4 separate regions of the Homo sapiens genome follow, and all the other regions are linked to region 4. The links are contacts of gene promoters, found by promoter capture Hi-C in blood cells and fetal thymus (Javierre and others, 2016). All regions are on one chromosome and are shown on one strand. Each heading gives the region's core, a stretch centred on a gene start or on the middle of the fragment in contact. The rest is flanking DNA. Distances are from core to core; before and after follow the strand shown. Region 1 overlaps SLC38A9 (solute carrier family 38 member 9). Region 2 overlaps IL31RA (interleukin 31 receptor A). Region 3 has its middle 5.5 kb from the start of PLK2. Region 4 holds the start of SETD9 (SET domain containing 9).

Region 1 (2,700 bases), core at 4-2,503, 1.2 Mb before region 4:
TAATCTTCTTGCCTCAGCCTCCCAAAGTACCAAAGTGCTGGGATTATAGGCATGAGCCACCATGCCTAGTCTTAAAGCTTTTTTGAATGTCTTGATGAGAAGTATAAAATATCCCGAAGTTTGATGACTTAGGTTGAGAGGTGAATTAGAGTTCCACAGCAAATATTACATAGGTGATAATGCAGAATAGTTTATCAATGATTAACAAAAATGCTAAATACTTCTATAGTATTAATTTGTCAGACATTACATTGATATAATTTGGTAGGGGCTAAATATACAAGATGACATAAACAGACATATTCCAGCCTGGCCAACATAGTGAAACCCTGTCTCTACTAAAAGTACAAAAATTAGCCAGCAGTGGTGGCACACACGTGTAGTCCCAGCTACCCGGGAGGCTGAGGCAGGAGAATTGCTTGAACCCAGGAGGCAGAGGTTGCAGAGCAAGACTCTGTCTCAAAACAAAACCCAGACATAATCACTTTTAACATCTCACTCAATCTCTGAGTTTTAAAACAAAGTCCCAGATGCAAGACCACTAAGTCAAATCTAAGTCATTAAATGAGTCTCTAATTGTTTAAGATTGGTTTTAATAAGGAGTCCAGCTATGATTTGAATGTTTGTGTCCCGTCCAAAATTCATATGTTGAAACTTAATTGCCAATGTTATAGTATTAACAGGTAGACCCTTTTGGAGGTAATTATGTCAGGAAGGCAGAACCCTTATGAATGGAGTTAGTAACCTTATGAAAAGTTTGAAGGGAACTAGCTAGATCCCTTTTGTCTTTCCATCCCTTCCCCCATGTGAGGACACAGCACCAAGGCACCATCTTGGAAGCAGAGACCGGGTCCTCACCAAACATCAAATCTGCAGGTGGCTTGATCTTGGACTTCCCAGCCTCCACAACTGCTAGAAATTAATTTCTATTGTTTATAAATTACCTAGCCTCAAGTATTTCATTAGAGCAGCACCAAGAGACTGAGATAGGTCCCAGTAGGGAATGAACAGCTTAGTTGACTTGCTTGGTACTTTCGACTTTTATTTAAAATGTTGGTGACTGAGCCAGGCATGGTGGCTCATGCCTGTAATCTCAGCTACTCGGGAGGCTGAGGTGAGAGAACTGCTTGAGCCCAGGAGTTCGAGATTGCAGCGAGCTACAATGGCACCACTGCATTCCAGCCCAGGTGACAGAGTGAGACTGTCTCTAAAAGAACAAAAAATGTTAGTGCCTGTACTGAAGCACTTCTCTCCGTAAAAAGGACATAGAGAGCAATCAAAGTAAACTGGTATGACATTATTTTAAAAAGGTATTGACTGTGATTATTGGCGTATCTCAAAGAATATCAGCCCTTTCCATACTAGGCTCAGAAATGTCTTTTCACAATTCTTTGCAAAAATAAATCTATAGAATCTATGCCAAGATGCTAGCATCAATCTGCAATAGAATACACTAGCTTGTGCCCAAATAAATGTGACTATGGACCCACATACAACTATTATATATGTTCTTTCTCAGAGACTAAAAATGAATATTACTGAATACTTTTGTGTATGTTATAGAGTTTCAGATACTACATTTATACTCAGTGTCCTAGGCTAGAGGTTGACATATTTTTTTCTGTAAAGGGTCAGATAATAAATATTTCAGGCTTTTTGAGCCATATAGTTTCTGCAGCTACTCAATTCTACCTGTTAGCATGAAAGGCAATTGAGTGTGCATGGCTGTGTTCCAATAGAACTTTATGAAAAAAATATATCTGTCAGCAGGCCAAATTTGGTCATAGTTTACTCACCTCTGTAGTATGCCAACATAAAAGCAAATGGAACCACACCACAAAAAAGTCACCCTGGTGGAAGCAGTTATGCTATGTATATATATTTTCTTCTGTATTAGTCTGTAACAGCTATAAACTCCAATAACAAACTTATCTAAATCTCTTCCTGATGAATCATTTACTGGTTAGCCAATAGGATCTATAATGCTCCTATTCTGATGTGACAGTTGGAACATGCTTCCAACCTGATCAATAAATGCTTCAAAAGGCGTTAAATTTGACAGTGCTGGAGGATAGTGTGGTCTCACAAAAAAATTACCAAAGCAACGCTGTGGTACCAAAGAATCTCTCCTTCTACAATGGGAACACTAAATGCTCTCAAGTTATATTTCAGTGGTAAGAAAGAAAAAAACCCTAGCAAACGACAGAAATTTAAGTATGTTACAAAATGCAGGCCTGGTAGACATTTTTAACCTCTAAGTGATTTTTTTTTTTTAACTTTTAAGCCCATATATACTTTTTAAAAAATACCATATAGGTCCAGTGTGGTGGCTCATGCCTGTAATCCCAATGCTTTGGGAGGCTGAAGCAAGAGGATTGCTTGAACCTAGGAGTTCAAGGTAACAGTTAGCTATGACAGTGCCACTGCACTAAAGCTTGAGTATCAGAGCAAAACTCTGCCCCTAACCCCAAAAAGAAAAAAAAAATACTAAACAATACTATTTCAATTTGTAGTTCAGGTTGGTATTCCATCCTCCTATGCTGAGTTTACCCTTTATTGTAAGTATTTAGAGTATTATAAAATCACAATTAAAAGCATATTATTTTATGTATGTAACTGAAATATATAGTATTTAAGATTGTGATTAGAAATCTAAGGCTAACTGGCTGGGCGTGTGTGGCACACGCCTGTAATCCCAGC
Region 2 (2,750 bases), core at 196-2,695, 1.0 Mb before region 4:
TGCCAGATGACATTCCAATTACCTCAGGGTTGGAGGCTCCCGCACCATCGCCCACTCCCTCCACACCCGCAGGGCTATGGGACTCCCTGGGTTGCGGAGGCGGTGCTGCCGCCGCATGGGACAACAGCCAGAGATGGCGGGGAATCCTAGAGAATCAATCCCAGATGCTGTGCTGTCTTTCTCAGCCATCAAGTATGAAAACAAATGATTGTGGCAACACATTTTTGGGGGAGGAAAGCCAACAACCTCACACGCCCACATGTGGTCTTAGCTACATAGCAGTGGCGAAGGGCCAAGTAGGGCAGCTTGCGAAGTAGAGAAGATGGATTTCAGTGCCCGCCTCCTCCCCGTCGCCTGTTGGGTCTGGTCTTTTTCTCCACACCACCCCCCCGCCCCCCCGCACCTTCAAAAGGAAAGAGCTCTCTAAGAATTTGAGTTGGTTAAAAAAGAATGTACTAAAATGCTCTAAAATTAAATAATAGTGATAGTTGCATGACTGAACATACTATTAATAAAAGCCATTGAACTCACATTAAAACAGTGAATTTTATGGAATGTGAATTGTATCTCAATTTTTATTATTTTAAAAAGAATGTTATTTAAAAAAGTTATTTAAAATGTTAATATGTTATTTTAAAAAGATTTTAAATAACATATTAATATGTTATTTTAAAAAGATTTTAAATAACATATTAATGTTATTTTAAAAAGATTTTAAATAACATATTAATATGTTTTTTAAAAAGATTTTAAATAACATATTAATATGTTATTTAAAAAGAATATGTGTTATTTAAAAAAGAAAATGGGGCTGGGCGTGGACTGGGCCGGTAATCCCAGCACTTTGGGAGGCCAAGGCATGGGGATCACTTGAGGTCAGAAGTTCAAGACCAGCTTGGACAACACAGCAAAACCCTGTCTCTACTAAAAATACAAAAATTAGTCGGGCATGGTGGTGCACACCTGTAATCCCAGCTACTCGGGAGGCTGAGGCAGGAGAATTGCTGGAATCCAAGAGGCGGAGGTTGCAGTGAGCCAAGATCAGGCCACTGCACTCCAGCCTGGGCGACAGAGAGAGACTCTGTCTCAAAATAAATAAATAAATACAATAAAATAGAAAATGGGTCGTCTTGAGAGATAAAAGGCTCCTGGTCATTAGGAAGATTCTAGCTGACCTTTTATGCCTAGACATAAAAGTAAAGGAAATTCCTGAACTGGGAAGGCAGTGGGACGAAGTGCCTGCTAAAGTCCCACTTATAAGTCCTGGACTTATATTCAGGCATTACGCTCCATCTATGTGTATAATCAGTAACAGAAGGGGAAGCCCTATAAATTCTGGGAAATACTGTCTCCTAGGCAAATGTCTGGTGAGTGGGCCCAAGTTCAAGGCTGAAAATAAGAGTTTAGCTTAAAGTCCTCAGGATTCCACCTTAAACTTCTCGCCAAGGGTTTGGGACTGGCAGTGCGGCCCTCTTAGCTAGGACGCCTGGCTGGGGCGCCTGGTCCAGGGAAGCTGGCTCCCTTCTCAGAGGGAGAGGCATGGAAATAAAAGACTAGGGCATAGGGTACTCTCCAACCTTTGGATACTCCAGGCAAGAGATGACTCAGAGCCAGACCAGACTTTGGATGGGCTGAGAGGGAATGTGTCAGCTTTTTAGCCCTTACTCCTTTACACGAGTGGGATGGAGCGAAAGATACAGGCAGAAGGAAATAAGGGTGGCTTGTTTACATTGTTTTGGGCATTCTTCTAGTTTAGCCTCATGGAATTAGATGAAATTTAGTAAATCCCCTCTTCTGGCACTTGAAGTGTTACTATCACAGCCCAGGATCTTATTCATCCCTGGAGGGTAATTACCTGATTGTAGTTTAGTATCTAATAGTTAGCCTTATTCCCCACCCTCACCCCCACCGCTTCTCACTGTCTCAATGCCTTTCTTTTTCTTTGTTATTGGCAATAAATTTTGTTTTCTTTGGGTTCAGAAGGCAAGAGGAGCCCCAGTCCTAGAGAAAACACTTGGCTACAACATATGGTACTATCCAGAAAGCAACACTAACCTCACAGAAACAATGAACACTACTAACCAGCAGCTTGAACTGCATCTGGGAGGCGAGAGCTTTTGGGTGTCTATGATTTCTTATAATTCTCTTGGGAAGTCTCCAGTGGCCACCCTGAGGATTCCAGCTATTCAAGAAAAATGTAAGTAGAGCATCAACTTCTTCCTTAGGTGCCTGGTCCCATCAATTGGCCAAGGAGCAGTCCCTGTGCTCTCAAGGGTGGCTGTTTCTCTTGAGTCAAAATGAAAATGGAGTGGGAACCTTTTAGGTTGTGGTGAAGCAATGAGAATTTGCTGGTAATTAATGAATCACTTGAAGTCATGTTCCTTTGGAACAAAGCCTGCGTTAAAAATCAGAGACTTTATAAATTACAGAATACAAAGCCATACACCTAGAAGTTCTGTGTGCAGCTTTGATTTGTTCTGGTCTGGGTGAATGTAAGCTGGGTCAAGTCCTATGAAACTGTCCTATTTCTCACATTTGTCCTCCGTGACCGAAGCTGCCCTTGAACTCTTCTCCCCACAAATGGGTACTCACCACATCCCCATCCTTGGTTTAATGCTTGCTGTCCTGTTTTCTTCCTTTTCCCCTTCCATTTGTCACTATGGAAAAATTCTAGTGTTTATACTTGCCAATAAATTGTTCATTACACTTTTGGTTAAGTAGTTTTTGACATATTACTGCTCCCAGGCAAA
Region 3 (2,771 bases), core at 214-2,713, 1.6 Mb after region 4:
CCATTTGACCCAGCAATTCCATTACTGAGTGTATACCCAAAGGATTATAAATCATTCTACTATAATGACACATGCACATGTATGTTTATTGCAGCACTGTTCACAGTAGCAAAGACTTGGAGCTGACCCAAATGCCCATGAATGATAGATTGGATAAAGAAAATGTGGCACATATACACCATGGAATACTGTGCAGCCATAAAAAAGGATAAGTTGATGTTCTTTGCAGGGACATGGATGAAGCTGGAAACCATCATTCTCAGCAAACTAACACAGGAACAGAAAACCAAACACTGCATGTTCTCATTCATAAGTGGGCATTAAACAATGAGAACATATGGACACAAGGAGGGGAACATCACACACTGGGGCCTATCAGGAGGTGGGGGCCTAGAGGAGGGATAGCATTAGGAGAAATACCTAATGTAGATGACGGGTTGATGGATTCAGCAAACCACCAAGGCACGTGTATACCTATGTAACAAACCTGCACATTCTGCACATGTATCCCAGAACTTAAAGTATAATAAAAAAATTTTTTTTAAAAAGACTACACATTGGGTACAGTGTACACTGCTTGAGTGATGGGTACAGCGAAATCTCAGAAATCACCACTAAAGGACTTAATGTAACCAAATACCACTTGTTCACCAAAAACCTATTAAAAGAAAAAATAATAATTTTCAAAAAACAACCATGCCCATTTGCTTATGTAGATATATTGTCTATGGCTGCTTTCATGCTACAATGGCAGAGTTCAGCTGTGACAGAGACCAAATGGCCTGCAATGCCTAAAATATTTGCTACCTAGCCCTTTACAGAAACAGTTTGCTGACCCCTCATGTATAAGGTTATTCACTGCAGTGTTGCTTGTAATAATTAAAGATTAGAAACAACCTAAGTGGCCATCAATAGAAAACTGGTTAAATGATGATGTGTTCATGCCGTGAAAATGTAGGCAGTTGTAAAAACAAAATGAAGAAGCTTTTTAAGTATTGATATGAAAAAAATCTCCAAAATAGGCCGGGCGCGGTGGCTCAACAACTTGGGAGGCTGAGGCAGGCCGATCATCTGAGGTCAGGAGTTCTAGACCAGCCTGGCCAACATGGTGAAACCCCGTCTCTACTAAAATTACAAAAATTAGCCAGGTGTGGTGGTAGGTGCCTGTAATCCCAGCTAATCAGGAGGCTGAGGCAAGAGAATCGCTTGACATTAGGAGATATACCTAATGTAAATGACCAGTTAATGGGTGCAGCACACCAACACGGCACATGTATACATATGTAACAAACCTGCATGTTGTGCACATGTACCCTAGAACGTAAAGTACAATAAATATATATACAAAAAAAAAAAAAGAGAAACGCTTGAACCCGGGAGGCGGAAGTTGCAGTGAGCCGAGATCACACCATTGCACTCCAGCCTGGGGGACAAGAGTGAGACTTCGCCTCAAAACACACACACACACACACACACACAAATCTCCAAAATAAATACTGTGGAAAGCAAGTATAGGATAGTGTATGGTATAGTAAAATATGTTTCCTTGGAATAAAAAATGAGGGGAAAATAACATATTTTTATAGCCTTAATTATGCATAAAGCATAAACTTTTGGGAAGGATTAATAGCAAACTAATAATAATAGGTTTTCTTCTGTTTACTTGTTTACATATTTTTGTGAGAAGATTATTTACTTTTCTGATCATTTTTATGTGTTTTAATGTCTGAACCAGAAGAATACATTACTATTTAAAAATACATATAAAAACATTTTTTAAGGATGTGATTTGGCTCATCAAAGAGAACTTTGTGTTCCACTCTCTGTTACATTCTATCATCTCATCAAGGTTTGCAATACACACTTTATACTATAAGTATAGGGTGCAGCGAAAATACTTTATATTGCTTAATTGATTATTACTTTTCTTCCCCACAGGTATGAAAGCTTCATGAGGACAGGTACATTTCTTAGTTTAATGCTATATTCCCCATGCCTTGAATAGTACATGACAGAGTAAAAACTCAATTATTTGTTAGATAGACACATTTATAAATATAAAACTATTGAGAAAACAAGATACCTCTTAGATTTGATCTTGCACAAATTTCTGAAACTCTCTATGTCTCAGTTTCTTCTTCTGTAACAAGAGGATGACAACATTTTATAAGGTTGTTGCTATGGTATGAATGTTTTTGTTCCCACAACATTCATTTGTTGAAATTCTCACCTACATTGTGATGGTATTAAGAGGTGGGTCTTTGGAGGTGATTAGCTCATGGGGTTAGAGCCTTCATAAATGGCATTAATACCTTCATAATAGAGACTGAAGAGATACTCCTTGCCCCTTCCACCATGTGAGACCACAGCAAGAAGGTGCCATCTGTGAGGAAGTTGGCCCTCACCAGATACCAAATCTGCTAGCAACATGATCTTGGATTTCCCAGCTCCTAGAACTGTGAGAAATAAATTTATTGTTTATAAGCCACCTAGTTTTGTGATATTTTGTTATAGCAGCCCAGAGGGGCTAAGACAATTGTTATAATGATTAAACAAGCCAATGCATAGAATGTGCTTAGAACAGTGCCTGTCACATGGTGGGAAATCTATAATGCTAGTTATTATTTAATATTCAGGAGAAAGGAAGGGGCAAGAAGAAAAACTACCAAAGGCAGGAGAGATGGACAAGAAGGAGTTTAACCCAAGGTAGAGTGGAGAGATACTGTTCCCAGCATCTGGTTTACTGAAAGGAATTCAACAAAACTGAACGG
Region 4 (2,851 bases), core at 352-2,851:
TTGGTAGATACTCTTTCTCTTTATTTCTTTCAGAATAGAACAAATTAGTCCCGCAGCTACTGGCGATTGGCTGAATTTTTTTTTTTTTTGAGACGGGATCTCACTCTGTCACCCAGGCTGGAGTGCAGTGGCGGATCTCGGCTCCCTGCAACCTCCGTCTCTCAGGTTCAAGCGATTCTTCTGCCTCAGCCTCCTGAGTAGCTGGGACTACAGGCACGTGCCACCAACGCTCGGCTAATTTTTGTATTTGTTCTTTTTTAGTAAAGACGGGGTTTCGCCATGTTGGCCAGATTGGTCCCGAACTCCTGACCTCAGGGGATCCACCCGCCTCGGCCTCCCAAAGTGCTGGGATTACAGGCGTGAGCCACTGCGCCCGGCCTTGGCTGAGTTTTTATTAGATCTGAGCCGTTCAATTTCAATAGTTTAGGATCCAACCTCACTCTCAGGCAAAGAATAGAGGAAATGATACCAACGTATTTATCTGTCAATAAACACTTGGTGATTTGAATATGGTTAAGGGATTCCTGTAGTTTGCCCCCCTTAAAACTGAACTTTGTCCAAACCTGTTCTAAATATGTGTGTGCGTGTGCATGCATCTGGGTGTTGGGGAGGAGCGGTCGTAAAGTTCCTTTTAAATTTCACCTATGGGGGACTACTTCCCACCTCATCCTATGAAGTCAACATTAGCCTAAATACCAAAGCCAGATTAAGACACTACAAGAAAACTACGAAACAATATCTCTCACGAACACAGATGCAGAACTTCTAGACAAAACGTTTCCAAATTGAAGCGAAGACCATATTAAAAGGACAAAAGCACCTCAGTGGTTGCTTGGGGACTGGGGGAGGGGCTGGATTACTATCTTGGCTGTGGTGTCGAAAACCTATCAAATTGTTCACTTTAAATATGTGCAGTTTATTGTATCCCAACCATTCCTCAACAAAGCTGTTTTTCAGAAACATTTGTCCATGTAGTTTTGCCTTTGAATGGTTGGGTCAATGAAGAGAAAAACGAGTGAAAACAGGGAATCATGACACTTTGTTTTTTTACGTGTAAATATTCGCAAAACGCCCAAACTGGTAACTTTGGGAACACGGGTTCACGCAGAAGAAGGGCTGCTGTCTGGGGAGGACTGAAACTCGGGTTCCCGAAGTCGGGCTGCTCTGGGGCCACGGAGAGAAGGGGAGAGAACGTCGAGGAAGAGGCAGAGCTCAAGTGGACGGAGGATGGAACACAGAGCGCGGCCGGGACAAAGGGGCAGGCCAGACAGCCGTGACAGAGAAACTAGGCGGTCCGCTCCTGGGACGCGGTCTCGGGGGCGGGTTCGCCCCTGAGGCCCGGTGACCCTTCGCCCGCAACCAGGGCTAGCGCTTGTGTGCGCCCACGGAAGCACCCGAGCGACCGGAGAAAGAAAAAGTGGTCAAGGGGACCTCCTTCCAGCTCTACGCGCCTCTCATTCAGAGAGGTGAGGTCAGGAAAGGGGAAGGACGAAGCCCCAGAGCAACAGAAGTCAGGCGGTGCCAGGAACACTGAGAGCGGAGCCAGGGGAAGGCGGCCGAGCGCGGCCCCCTCTCCTCCCGGGCCGGGGCGGGCCCGAGGCCTCGATCCGCCTTCCCCGCGCCGTCCTGGTCACGGCCCCGCGGGGCAGCCATGCCTGGCCGTCTGCTGCGGGGCCTGTGGCAGCGATGGCGCCGTTACAAGTACCGCTTCGTTCCCTGGATCGCACTGAACCTAAGCCACAACCCGAGGTGAGAGGGCGGGACGGCAGAACGAGGGGCACCTGCCTTCGGTTCCCAGACGCCACCACGGCGGCGGGACGCAAAGCGGAGAGCCTGAGGCTGACTGCCGGCCTGAGATGGGCGGGCCCGGGTGGGCAGGGACTGAGGTGGGCGGGCCGGGTGGGCGGGGACTGAGGCCTCGGAGGGGTTTAAGGAACGCGGGCCAGAGGCGGGCGGGGCCGAGGTTGGTGGAGTCCGAGGCCCGCTGGAAGCCTGAAGTGGGCGGTGGCTTCAGGTGGGCGGGGCCTATGGCCTCTTTCCCAGTGTCCGCTGCGCTGCCGGGCCCGCGAGGCCGAGCTCGCCAGCCGGATGTGTCGCCTGTTCTTCCCTGTTGCGTTCGGCACTGACTGGGGAGCTTGTATCTGGGCAAAAATGGAAACTTTTTAAAAAGACTGCCCTTACCGCGTGAGAGTGCGTGGCTTTTTCTCCACCAGGGGTTAATTAGGTGCTTGAACTTCCTCAGAAAAGCCAAGCCAGGGTTTATTTTCATAGTTCATACAAGTACTTCACGTGGTTAAAGAAGCCCATCCCGGCTGTGAGAATAGCGTGCAGTAGCTCGCGCGTTAAGAACGGGCAGAACGCCACTCAAAAGCACGTCGGGATGGTGGGTTTCGGATTGGGGTGAGTCCCGCCGGCGTTATTAAGGGCGCACCAGTGATCAGCTCAACACCGTGCTCACCAAAGAGGCCGACCGGGCCTCCCTGAAGTCAGTGTCCGACAAATAGGGAAACAAAGCGGTTTCCGGAAGGTTGCATGCTAGGGAAACAGGAGATCAGTTGTATCATGACTCGGAACCGTGAGGCGGGAATTACAACCTTTTTGTTCAAGTAAAAATAATGCAGTTAGTACAAAAAGATAATGATTATGGAAATAAGAGGTGCAGTCATTGAAGACGTTAGTCGTCCTGGAGGGAGTGTCACAAAGTATACGATGTTGAATTTGTCTTTGAAACTACAAGGCCATTTTTAAAAAGCCATTGAATGTGAGGTCATTCATTCTCATTGTGATGACATTCAGCTTGGCTGTTGGGTGTAGTACGGGAAAGAGCTGAACTTCGTTTCTGCCTCTGGCT

The links. The method cuts DNA at HindIII sites, captures the fragments that hold promoters and counts their contacts. A CHiCAGO score of 5 or more calls a contact.
Region 1: a contact is called between a fragment that was not itself captured here and the fragment with the promoter of SETD9 in region 4, in 1 of 17 cell types (total CD8 T cells). The highest score is 5.1, in total CD8 T cells.
Region 2: a contact is called between a fragment that was not itself captured here and the fragment with the promoter of SETD9 in region 4, in 1 of 17 cell types (monocytes). The highest score is 6.5, in monocytes.
Region 3: a fragment that was not itself captured here is called in contact with the fragment with the promoter of SETD9 in region 4 in 2 of 17 cell types (neutrophils and total CD8 T cells); the score reaches 6.4 in neutrophils.

Annotation. Positions count from the first base shown.
Region 1 is chr5:55,707,120-55,709,819 of GRCh38, forward strand. The region is part of intron 2 of SLC38A9 (solute carrier family 38 member 9); the gene reads right to left. Among named protein-coding and RNA genes, the nearest start is that of SLC38A9, 3.9 kb to the right of the region's middle. The HindIII fragment of the contact is 2,357 bases long and covers 76-2,432 here.
Region 2 is chr5:55,897,936-55,900,685 of GRCh38, forward strand. It overlaps IL31RA (interleukin 31 receptor A), which reads left to right. Exons shown (of 15, transcript NM_139017.7): 8 at 1,981-2,197. Among named protein-coding and RNA genes, the nearest start is that of IL31RA, 48 kb to the left of the region's middle. The HindIII fragment of the contact is 7,038 bases long and covers 1-2,750 here.
Region 3 is chr5:58,464,159-58,466,929 of GRCh38, forward strand. No RefSeq gene overlaps it. Among named protein-coding and RNA genes, the nearest start is that of PLK2, 5.5 kb to the left of the region's middle. The HindIII fragment of the contact is 963 bases long and covers 983-1,945 here.
Region 4 is chr5:56,907,995-56,910,845 of GRCh38, forward strand. SETD9 (SET domain containing 9) reads left to right here and starts at 1,602. Exons shown (of 6, transcript NM_153706.4): 1 at 1,602-1,749. The coding sequence starts at 1,652. RefSeq lists enhancers at 1,238-1,327, 2,118-2,167, 2,263-2,851 and silencers at 1,478-1,687, 1,868-2,077. The HindIII fragment of the contact is 6,770 bases long and covers 1-2,851 here.